3 separate regions of the Homo sapiens genome follow, and all the other regions are linked to region 2. The links are contacts of gene promoters, found by promoter capture Hi-C in blood cells and fetal thymus (Javierre and others, 2016). All regions are on one chromosome and are shown on one strand. The core of a region is centred on a gene start or on the middle of the fragment in contact, and the rest is flanking DNA. Distances in the headings are between cores, read along the strand shown. Region 1 has its middle 5.1 kb from the start of CCDC80. Region 2 holds the start of CD200R1L (CD200 receptor 1 like). Region 3 overlaps GTPBP8 (GTP binding protein 8).

Region 1 (3,438 bases), core at 280-2,779, 200 kb after region 2:
CCCCATCACACTAGCTGTTCCTCTTTCATGTCCTTTACTCTTTTTCTTCCTCTACCAGTCCCTAAGTAATTTCTTCTAGCCTTAGGCTTTAAATCAGGGGTGTCCAATCTTTTGGCTTCTCTGGGCCACACTGGAAGAAGAGGAATTGTCTTGGGCTACATATAAAATACACTAACGATAGCTGATAAGCTAAAAAAAAAAAAAAAAAAGTAAAAAAAAATCTCTATGTTTTAAGAAAGTTTACAAATTGTGTTGGGCTACATTGAAAGCCACCCTGGGCTGCATGCAGCCCATGGGCCACGGGTTGGGCAAGCTTGCTTTAAATAGCCTCTCGAATTTATAATTCCAGCCTCAGTCCTCCTCGAAGTCCAGACTCATGTATCTAACTGCTTGCTTGACATCTGTATCAGAGTGTCTGATGGGAATTTCAAACAAAACATTTGATTCTTTCTGCCCCAAACTGCTTCTGTCAGCTCTGTTTTCAAAATATATACCACATCGAGTGACTTTTCTGCACTTACCGTGCTTCTAGCACGCTGGTTCAATAGACTGCACCTTTCACTTGTACCACTACATTATCTTCCTCACCAGTTGGTTAACTGTTGTCATTCTTGCAGCCACACTCTATTCTCCAGGCAGCATTCCTAGCATTCCTGTTAAGTCACATATCAAGCTTTGCCACATCCTTGCTTAAAATCGGCCAACATTGCTCTTCTGGAACAAGCTTGTGAAATAGCCCGGGTGTCAGTGCCTGTGCACTCACCATTCCCTCTACTCTGAATGTTCTTCCCCTCCCCCAATACTTGAGTGACTTGCTTTCCATTCTCACTTAAAATCCTTTTCTTTGGATAAGGGTATCTAAAATGGCCTCTTCCCCTTCATCAACATTTACTCCCTCCCTTTAAAAAACAAAAAACAAAAAAACAACAAAAAAAACTCTTTCAAGTACGTATGTAGGCTTAGGTATTTTGTTTTTATTTTTATTGTCTGTTTCCCACCGTTGTAATGTAAGCTCCCGGGAGTCAGGGAATGTTCATTTATGTATCCCTAGTGAGTAGAATAGTGCCTTGCATTGAGTAAATATTTGTCGAATGAATGAGCTGCCATCCTGTTGGTTCACACTTTCTGATGTAAGGTGATATTCTGAGTGATGTGGTCAAGACCTGCCATGCAAGGTCAGTACAGTGAACCGACCACTAAAGGATAGGGCAATCCTAGCAGGACAGGTGCCGGGCCGAAATTGGGACTGGGAAAATGAGATACAACACTTGTCTGCCAGACAAGAGTATCTGGGACTCTAGGGGACTCCACAGCCAAAAGGACATACCAAGCAAGATCTTATAGGTGACACACAGTTGCTGCCATGGCAAGCCTCCTTCTGTGGAAAGCCTGCTCAAGGAATTGAAGAGGCAAATTCTCCAACAGAAATGAACTCTGTGCATACTGGCTGCAGCCATAGTCAGCACTGAACTTTTACATGCAGAGAAAGTTGGCAGCACTGCTGTGGAGAGTATAATATTTATCTTCTCCAATGGGCTGTGAACTTCTAGAGGGGAGAGTCTGCTTGGTTCTGTGTCATTCCCGGTGCTCAGTCTGCATTTTTGCCAAACATTTGAGAGAAGGATTGAAAAAAAGGAGAAAAAAATTATATCATCTTTATCTTCTTGGCCATACCTAAGGGCACGGAGAAAGGTACAATTGGAATGTTCTCCTTCAGATCCAATCGATGTAAATCTTTTGTATGCATTAAATAACCAATGATAAAGACTTTAAATCCACCCCTTCCAGACCCAAGCACTAGTCCCCCAAGCAGCAAATTCATATGCCCACAAGTTCACATCTTTTACATAAAATAACAACCAATAAATAATTGAACTTTAAATCATTCACTCTGGAGATTTAAAATGAATCTTTGGGCCATTCACACAGCTCCTTAATTTCTGCTAGGGCAAGATCTTTAATTTGTACTAGCTAGGAGATGGACATTTTCTTAATTAAGCAACCTGCTACAGGGACAAAAAGGTGCCTACAAGGTTTCCCCAGCAAACTCTAAGTAATTAAAAATAAATGCATAAAGAAAGAATATTAACAACTGTTCTCAAGAGCTTTGACCATTATCCCATTAGGTAACTTTTATTTTTAAAGTACACAGTTTCCTTCAATTTTGGATTAAACATGTGACTTTGTTGACATTTCATGGACAATACTAAGTGTTTCTTTTGGGGGTTACGCTTTCTCAGAACATCCCTGTGAGAAAGGAATAATACAGGGTGGTTGGAGGAGATTAGAAAATTCCAAGCAGCAGTTTCACATGACTAGCAAAATGAAGCTTGAAATAGCTTCGGAAGCTATGGCCTAATAAGATCCTGAAAAAACAGGGATCAAGAGGGCCAGGCGTGGTGGCTCATGCCTGTAATCCCAGCACTTTGGGAGGTGGAGGTGGGCAGATCACGAGGTCAGTAGATCGAGACCATCCTGGCTAACATGGTGAAACCCCGTCTCTACTAAAAATACAAAAAAAAATTAGCTGGGTGTGGTGGCGGGCGCCTGTAGTCCCAGCTACTCGGGAGGCTGAGGCAGGAGAATGGTGTGAACCCGGGAGCAGAGGTTGCAGTGAGCCGAGATCATACCACTGCACTCCAGCCTGGGGGACAGAGCGAGGCTCTGTCTCAAAAAAAAAGAGTAAAGAAAAAGCACCCAGGCTTATGCTTACAGCTTGTCTGCTGGGGATCCTGAACGATACACTGTGGGGGCCACATCCGTGACTAGCAATGACCCTTACTGGAACTATCAACAGGACCAGGTTGATCTAAGAAAAATCATATGGTGACTTGTTTGGTGGAGGGAATGAAACAATATACCACTAAGCCCGCGAACTGTAATAAAATAAGATAAATAAGAAAAGGATGAAAACTCAGCTTTGTTTCAGGGGCACCTTTGTGGAGGACCTAAGAACATATACTAACATTGATCTCAGTACTGACGCTGGCCAAATTTTTCTACAGACACACTTTATTAGCCAGTCAGCACCTGACATAAGAAGAACATTACAGAAATTGGCTTTGGAACTCTACACACCTATTAATGAAATGTTTGGTGTGGCTTTTGGGGTATTCAATAATAGGGACAGAGCTAAAATGGCTGAAATGACCCAGAATGGCAAAAAATGGGATAGACAGCCAGCCCAAATGATTAGCAGTCACTGTAAACAGTGCCCTGCAACCTCAGGGTCACCCAGGAAGACGCTTCACCGCAGACCAAACAGGCTCAACAGCAAACCTGCAGGCAACGGTTGCTGCTCCAAGTGTGAGAAGTCAGGACACTGGAGAAAGGACTGTCCCAGCCAAGGGAGCCCACCCAGACCCTGTCCTCACTGCAAGCAGGAGGGCCATTGGAAAAGGAATTGCTCTCAGCTCTGAAGGGAGAGGAGGCCACCCA
Region 2 (3,527 bases), core at 1,003-3,502:
GGCTGTGCTTCACTACAGATGCTCTAGAACCAAACTCTCTGGGCTTCACACCAGCAGGAGCTCTGCTTCTATCACTTCTCTAAGCAGGTCTTTCTATCAGTTCAAGTGTCCGTGGTGGTCCAGGGGTCTTCTCCTGCTGGGATTCCAGAGGCCCATGGTGAAACTGGGTTGCTCCTTGCCTGTTTAACCCATCATCACCTTGCAGGAGTCACTGGGGGCCAGGAATGAGTTCTAGTGTTCCATAGCTCCATGCAGCATTTCCATCTTCCTCCCCCTTCAGCCCAGCATCTGCTTCTTCCCTCCATCTGCTCTCAGTGCCTTCCCTCTGAAGAAGGGCTAGAAGTGTGCCAGCCTTTCCAATGCCCGGGTGTCTCAGTGGAAGATATTCCTCCTGGCTGTTTCTAGTTGGCCATCTTGGAAGAGAAATCCCTGATTGAAGATCTGTTTGCAGCACAACCTATTTCATAACTGAAAACCTTGGGCTGTTGGGAATTTTAAATTCAGCCACACTTAATTGAGGCTTTAATTATGCCATTCAGTTCTAGTGCTTTGATACATAACAGCAGTATCATGGATACTGACCTCACCTTTGCTAACTGTGCACCTCAAAGCTCCTTGACTTAAATGATATTTGCATATCAAGCCCCTAGGCCTAACATTGCCTTCATATTCCACATGTGGTTCAGCCTCGTTATAGTACCACAGAGCCACAAAAATAAGACCCACATCAACTCAAGTTTGTGATCATTTGAAAAGGATGTCCCACATCACAGTTCCAGTTTCAGTTTCACATTATAGATGATATTACTTCGGCCCAAGACTTTGACCTTGAAGATGAATTTGCCCTTTTCCCCAGAAACGACTTCACCCTGGACACTGAGACCACCACCCCAGCAACATCCATAGGCTGGCTTTCCTAAGGAGCTAAAAAATTGGACACAGGACATTTATCATTTTACTTCCTTTGATATAAGAAATTCTGTTTCGTTTCCTGAGTTCACCATTTGCTTAAACTCTTGTTCTTTGCCAAAGTGTACCCCTTTATACTTCCATGCCTAAAGGAAAATCTGGTAGAGTGTATTACTCTTTGAGCCATTCTAATAATTAATGAGATTATTGCTTTCCCCAGGAAGCAACTGCCTCATATGGGTTCACCACTTAACCCCCTGGAGAGAGGACCTCCCATTGCCCATTACCTCCTCTGACACTTTCCATTCCAGTTTGCCACCACAACATCCTGCCCTGCACCCATGACCCACAGCTGCTACCTCTTCCTCTAGGTTACAAACGTCATTAATCTTTACATATACCTTACTTAACTAACTTCATACTCTCCAAAAATATAATTGTTGGACCTGCCACCTTGAACCCTGGAATGTACCAAGAGATTACCGTCACGCACACAAAAATATAGCTCATGTTTTAACATACTTTAAGTCAATCAGGATATTGTTAGAGATCTTGGAAATCCCGGATCTGTTTTCTTGGCTAAGGCCATACAATGTGAAACTTGGTTATGAACCAGCCTACAAGGACTCTTTATACTCCTACTTGTTTTCCTCCTTTTTAAGGAGAAAATAATAAAATTTTTGTGTGTGTGTGCTATTTAGGGCAATGTATGCACTACTTACTAAAACTCTGCTCTACAACTTAGGCCACCCAAATAATTCAAGTAATCAAGCTTAACACTAATGTGGAGATCAAGAAGTCAATTTTAATATAGTTTTCATGTAAAAAAAAAATGCCTTCTAGTCCCAGTTTTGAGCCCCTAACAGTTAGCTCCCCTTCTTGAATATCTGATTTAAGTCCCCCCAGCCTCTTCCCTTATCTGGTTCTCACACTGTATGTCACTATATACCTGCCCTAATTGCCCAGGGCTAAGTACCAGACAACTACAAACAGCCCCATGGACAGCTATGTCCTAGAGCTTGTGAAGTTATTCAAATTAGCTAAGGCACAGGGTTCTCAGGAAACCTAATTCTACTCCAATTACCATATATAAGGTACTCTCTACAGCTCCAGTGTGTTGTTACCCTGTCCCTGTGTGCAACCACTGTGTGGCCCTACATGGAATTCTTCTCTTGTTTGGAGCTATAAGTAACAAAGAGGTTTGCCTTTCACCTATCCAAGAGTCTTCATGTTGTGTCCTGTCATCAAAAGAATCTTTAATCTTATAAAACAGAAGGGTAGAATCTTTGCTTCGGTCTTAGTTTCCAGTGGTTTCCTGGCAACCTTTGGTTTTCCTTGGCTTGTAGAAGAAACATCACTCAGATCTCTGCCTTTTATCTTCACATGGTGTTCCTGTGTATGCGCCCAGTTTTCCTCTTTTTATAAGGACACCATAAAAAGCTAAGAAGTGCAAAAGAAGAAAAAAAGAATAAACCAAAGACGCCAGTCATATTGGATTAGGGACCAATCTATTTCAGCATGGCCACATCTTAACTAATTATATCTCCAATGACCCTATTTCCAAATAAGGTCATCTTCTGAGGTACTGGGGATTAGAATTTCAACAAATAAATGTTGGGCGGGGGTTGCACTATTCAACCATGACTGAAAGTAGTTATTAAAGACACACATATGACTATCTTATAACCCAACAATTTAATTCCTAGGTGTATATCCAAGAAAATGAATGTACACATAGACCAAAAATTATGTACAAAACAAGAATGTTCTTAGAAGCTTTATGTTAGCCCCAAACTGGGATAATGTAAATCTACAGAGAAATTGATGAATAAATTGTGATATAGTTATTGAAAATTTACTATACAGCATTAAAAATTGAAATTTGCAAAGAATTTCATGCATGTGAAGTTCAAAAACTGTCAGAATGAATTAAAGCTATTAGAAGTCTGAGTAGTGTTTACTCAACTTCTCTGGAGGAGATGATATCAGCAGAGAAGGAACAAAGGACACTTTGGAACAAAGGACACTTTGAATAATAATTATCAACATCTTGGTTTTGGAAGTAATTAGATAAGCGCATATATAGGTAGAAATTCATCAAACCATACACTCAAGATTTGTTCATTTTACCATATGTAATTTATACTCTCAAAATGCTACTTTTTAAATGAGTTGTTATATAGTTTATCTTGCTACTTCAATGTTGTGGGAGAAGCAATGAGTAGTAAGCATTGGCTTTTTTGCTTTATTACACAGCAAAACTCACTGACATTTCCCATCAGTGGTTAATCAGTCAAAAACATATAGAATGACAGCAAAAATTAAAGATAAGCAAGATAATGAAGAAATATGTTTTGCAATCCTGTTGAAGACAGAATAAGCAAAAGTGACCAAGAGAAACAGATTCACCAAGTCTGTTGATTGATTTAAAGTGGATTTATGTTTAAGTAGAAAACCACTCCAAAAGCATACTTTAGGGAAGATGTCAGCTCCAAGATTACTGATTTCCATCATTATCATGGTGTCTGGTAAGTCTGATACTGTGACATTTTCAGCTGAAAATAAAGCTTTCTTTCAATGATTATGAGGATACTCTTGATCTACTTACTTATAAGGTG
Region 3 (3,160 bases), core at 607-3,106, 150 kb before region 2:
TTTTTTTTTTTTTTTTTTGAGACAGAGTTTCACTCTTGTTGTCCAGGCTGGAGTGCAATGGTGCAATCTCAGCTCACCGCAACCTCCACCTCCTGGGTTCAAGCGATTCTCTTGCCTCAGCCTCCCGATTAGCTGGAATTACAGGAATGCACCACCGCGCCTGGCTAATTTTGTATTTTTAGTGGAAATGGGGTTTCTCCATGTTGGTCAGGCTGGTCTCGAACTCCCAACCTCAGGTGATTGGCCAGCCTCGGCCTCCCCAAAGTGCTGGGATTACAGGCATGAGCCACTGTGCCCGGCAAGATAGGCAATTTTTAAAGTTAAGTCAATTGTTTGGATCTTAGAACAAATATTATCAAAGGAAAGATTTTTATAAATGGTGATTTTAAGTTCCCAGTCAGTTTATTTGTCTACAGGAAAATGATTTTAGAATTACAGATTGGGAATGTCAAGAATACATTTCCTCCATTGTCCTCTCACAAAAGGAAGGAGATCACTCTACTTAGAAGTGATCATTTGGCTGATTTATTTGGTGAGGCGGGGCAGGAGTAAGGATGGGAGGGTTAAGTAATGGGAAGAATCATTAGCGATGGAGCCAGAGAATCATTTTATGAAGTGAGGAGCAAGAAAAGACCTAGTGAAGTCTCATGGAAGGGTTCCAACTCAATGAAAGGGGTGTGTGTGCGTTCGTGCACGCACATACACAGGGATAGTGAACATTAGGGTTGGTGGAAAGGTTTACCATGGCCAGATATGGTGAGACAAAGTGGGGGTGATTTTGAAGAAAGGGTATCTTAGATATTGGCAGAGACTGCGTCGTTGAGAAGAAAGTAGAGGGAATTAGAAAATGAAAGAAAGCTATTACAGCAGACTGGCTAGGAAAACAAGCACATAAGAATATGCCGAATGTGTGTGTGTAACTAATCACGTACTTTATACCTTAAAAAAGATTATAGGAGGAAAAAAGCAAGAAAAACCTAAAAGCCATTTACCGTACAATCAGTGTAGAACTAGATGATCACTGTTATAGGAGGAAATATAGAATGACAATAAGACACTTTATTTGGCAACTCTGCAAAATTTGGATAAAGAAAGACTTTCTGAAGATATTGTCTAGACTACTAAAATAAATCCAGCTACACTTCCTTTTCTTCAGAGGAATACACAGGCATTAGGATGTCTTACTTTATTACTTTTTTGAAAGAAATCACTTCTCTAGGAACTTAGTAATTATGATTTCTTATACCTTCCAGCATTTATTATTCATGTTAGTTAATCCAAGAGATAGTCCAAACATATTTAAAAACTTCAACATACTGGTTTTTTGGAGACTCTGACTTCAACCTCAGGGGCCAGTGAAAATAAAGCCTTGATTAGAGATGATTTTCCAACATTGCTTCTGCCTATAAAACACACCTTATACAAGAAAAAACAAGATAAGTACGTACTAGCTGTATATGCTATTCTGCATTAGATGTAAAAAACTTCAAATTCTAACACAGCTAATATTTATTGAATGAATTAAATGTGCCAGGTACTATTTTAAGCATTCAGCATATATTTTCTTATTCATTTTTTACAGCATCTAGGAGGTAGGTGATATTATCCCCATTTTACGGATGAGAGAACACAACTAACCCAAAATTATACAGCTAGAAAGTGAAGGAGTTGGGATTTGAACTCAGGACATGTATATCTAGAATCTGTGCTTTTAGTTTCACTACGCTACTCAAGAATATATGCAACTTTTATTAAGCATTTCATATTTACAAAGCTTTTTAGAGTAAAAACTAGATGTAGTTCAACAGAACTAGATGAAAAGTACAACTACATGTTTGGAAGCACATTTTCTCAAGCACTCCCATGGTATACTGTAACACCACTGCAATTTAAAAACTTACTCTTTTCCCTTGACCTCTCTTGTTCCAATTAAGCTTGTCTCCTCTGTAGTGTGGAAAACAACAGAATATTCTCGATAATAACCATTAATACACATGGCTCTGCTTTTGAACATGGTATTGGGGGAGGGGGTACAATGCCAATCAGTTGTTCTAAATGACGGCCGTACTGCCCCTTGAGGGACATTTTGGAGATTTTAAGGGCATTTTTGGTTATCAAGACAATTGGGGGACATTTAGTGGGCAGGGGCCAGGGATCCTATCCTGGAAAATTCTGGTCAGTTCTTCAAAATTAATTGATCTGAGTCCTGCAAAAATTTTAAATGCTCTGCCAGAGCAAATCTAATGCTAATATGTAGATAAAACTGAATTTTAAAAACGAATTACAAAAAAGTCCAGTAATTTAGAAGCTTAAATAAAAAAGCAATGGCTGTCTCAAAATCATTAAATAATTGAGGTACTCTTTGAATCCTGACTATAGTTCCACATATATTTAGACGAAATATCTCTGGGCAATGGTGCACTTAGTGTAAATACATATGGAGAGTTGAGATGCCTTTTAGCAGACTTAGAACAGAATATCAATAAATTGTAGGACATGCAAGAATGCTCACTCATGAAATTTCACTAATAAACGTTGTTATAAAAATTTTTCCACATTATTGCCATCTAGAGATTATTATTTTTGCACGATAGGAAATTTAGATTAGGCGAAAGTTACTTATTGATAAGGACCATCTCATTTGTGAAACTATTATTCGTTTCCTATTCTTCACTGTCTAAATTCTGTCTAATTTGTCTGGCATGTTTTCCCTACTTAAGTTAAATAGAAGAAAAAAGGAGAGTTAATTTTTTGAATGCTTAATTTGGGTTTGAAAAGCTTTTAAAGCATTTTGAAGTCTTCTATATTCATTCCAAAATAATTTAAGCTGTATACAGGCAGTCTCTGCTTACAGTGGGTCGACTTAACGATTTTTGACTTTACCATGGGTTTATGGGTATTGACTGCATTTTGTACTTAACAATGGGTTTCTCGGGTATCCCCACGTACAGGGAGCATCGACATATGCCTATTGAGTTAAAATAATATATGCGCCAACATAAAGCTAGAAAATACAACCGCAAAATCACCCGCGAGCCGGACGGCCAGGGAAGCGGTTAGCGCTGTGACGCCGGCGCGCAGGTGAACCGTGAGAATCGCCTCTCACCTCTGGCCGCGGAAGGTCCGGGGCGTGGTCGATACGGACGGCGGAGCTGACGTA

What was found. The method cuts DNA at HindIII sites, captures the fragments that hold promoters and counts their contacts. A CHiCAGO score of 5 or more calls a contact.
Region 1: a fragment that was not itself captured here is called in contact with the fragment with the promoter of CD200R1L in region 2 in 1 of 17 cell types (M1 macrophages); the score reaches 6.8 in M1 macrophages.
Region 3: a fragment that was not itself captured here is called in contact with the fragment with the promoter of CD200R1L in region 2 in 1 of 17 cell types (M1 macrophages); the score reaches 5.2 in M1 macrophages.

The regions. Positions count from the first base shown.
Region 1 is chr3:112,644,532-112,647,969 of GRCh38, reverse strand. No RefSeq gene overlaps it. Among named protein-coding and RNA genes, the nearest start is that of CCDC80, 5.1 kb to the right of the region's middle. The HindIII fragment of the contact is 1,605 bases long and covers 727-2,331 here.
Region 2 is chr3:112,845,589-112,849,115 of GRCh38, reverse strand. It overlaps CD200R1L (CD200 receptor 1 like), which reads left to right and starts at 2,252. Exons shown (of 8, transcript NM_001199215.3): 1 at 2,252-2,491; 2 at 3,166-3,437. The HindIII fragment of the contact is 1,004 bases long and covers 1,684-2,687 here.
Region 3 is chr3:112,991,282-112,994,441 of GRCh38, reverse strand. It overlaps GTPBP8 (GTP binding protein 8), which reads right to left. Exons shown (of 6, transcript NM_014170.4): 1 at 3,107-3,160; 2 at 1,318-1,416. Among named protein-coding and RNA genes, the nearest start is that of GTPBP8, 1.9 kb to the right of the region's middle. The HindIII fragment of the contact is 160 bases long and covers 1,777-1,936 here.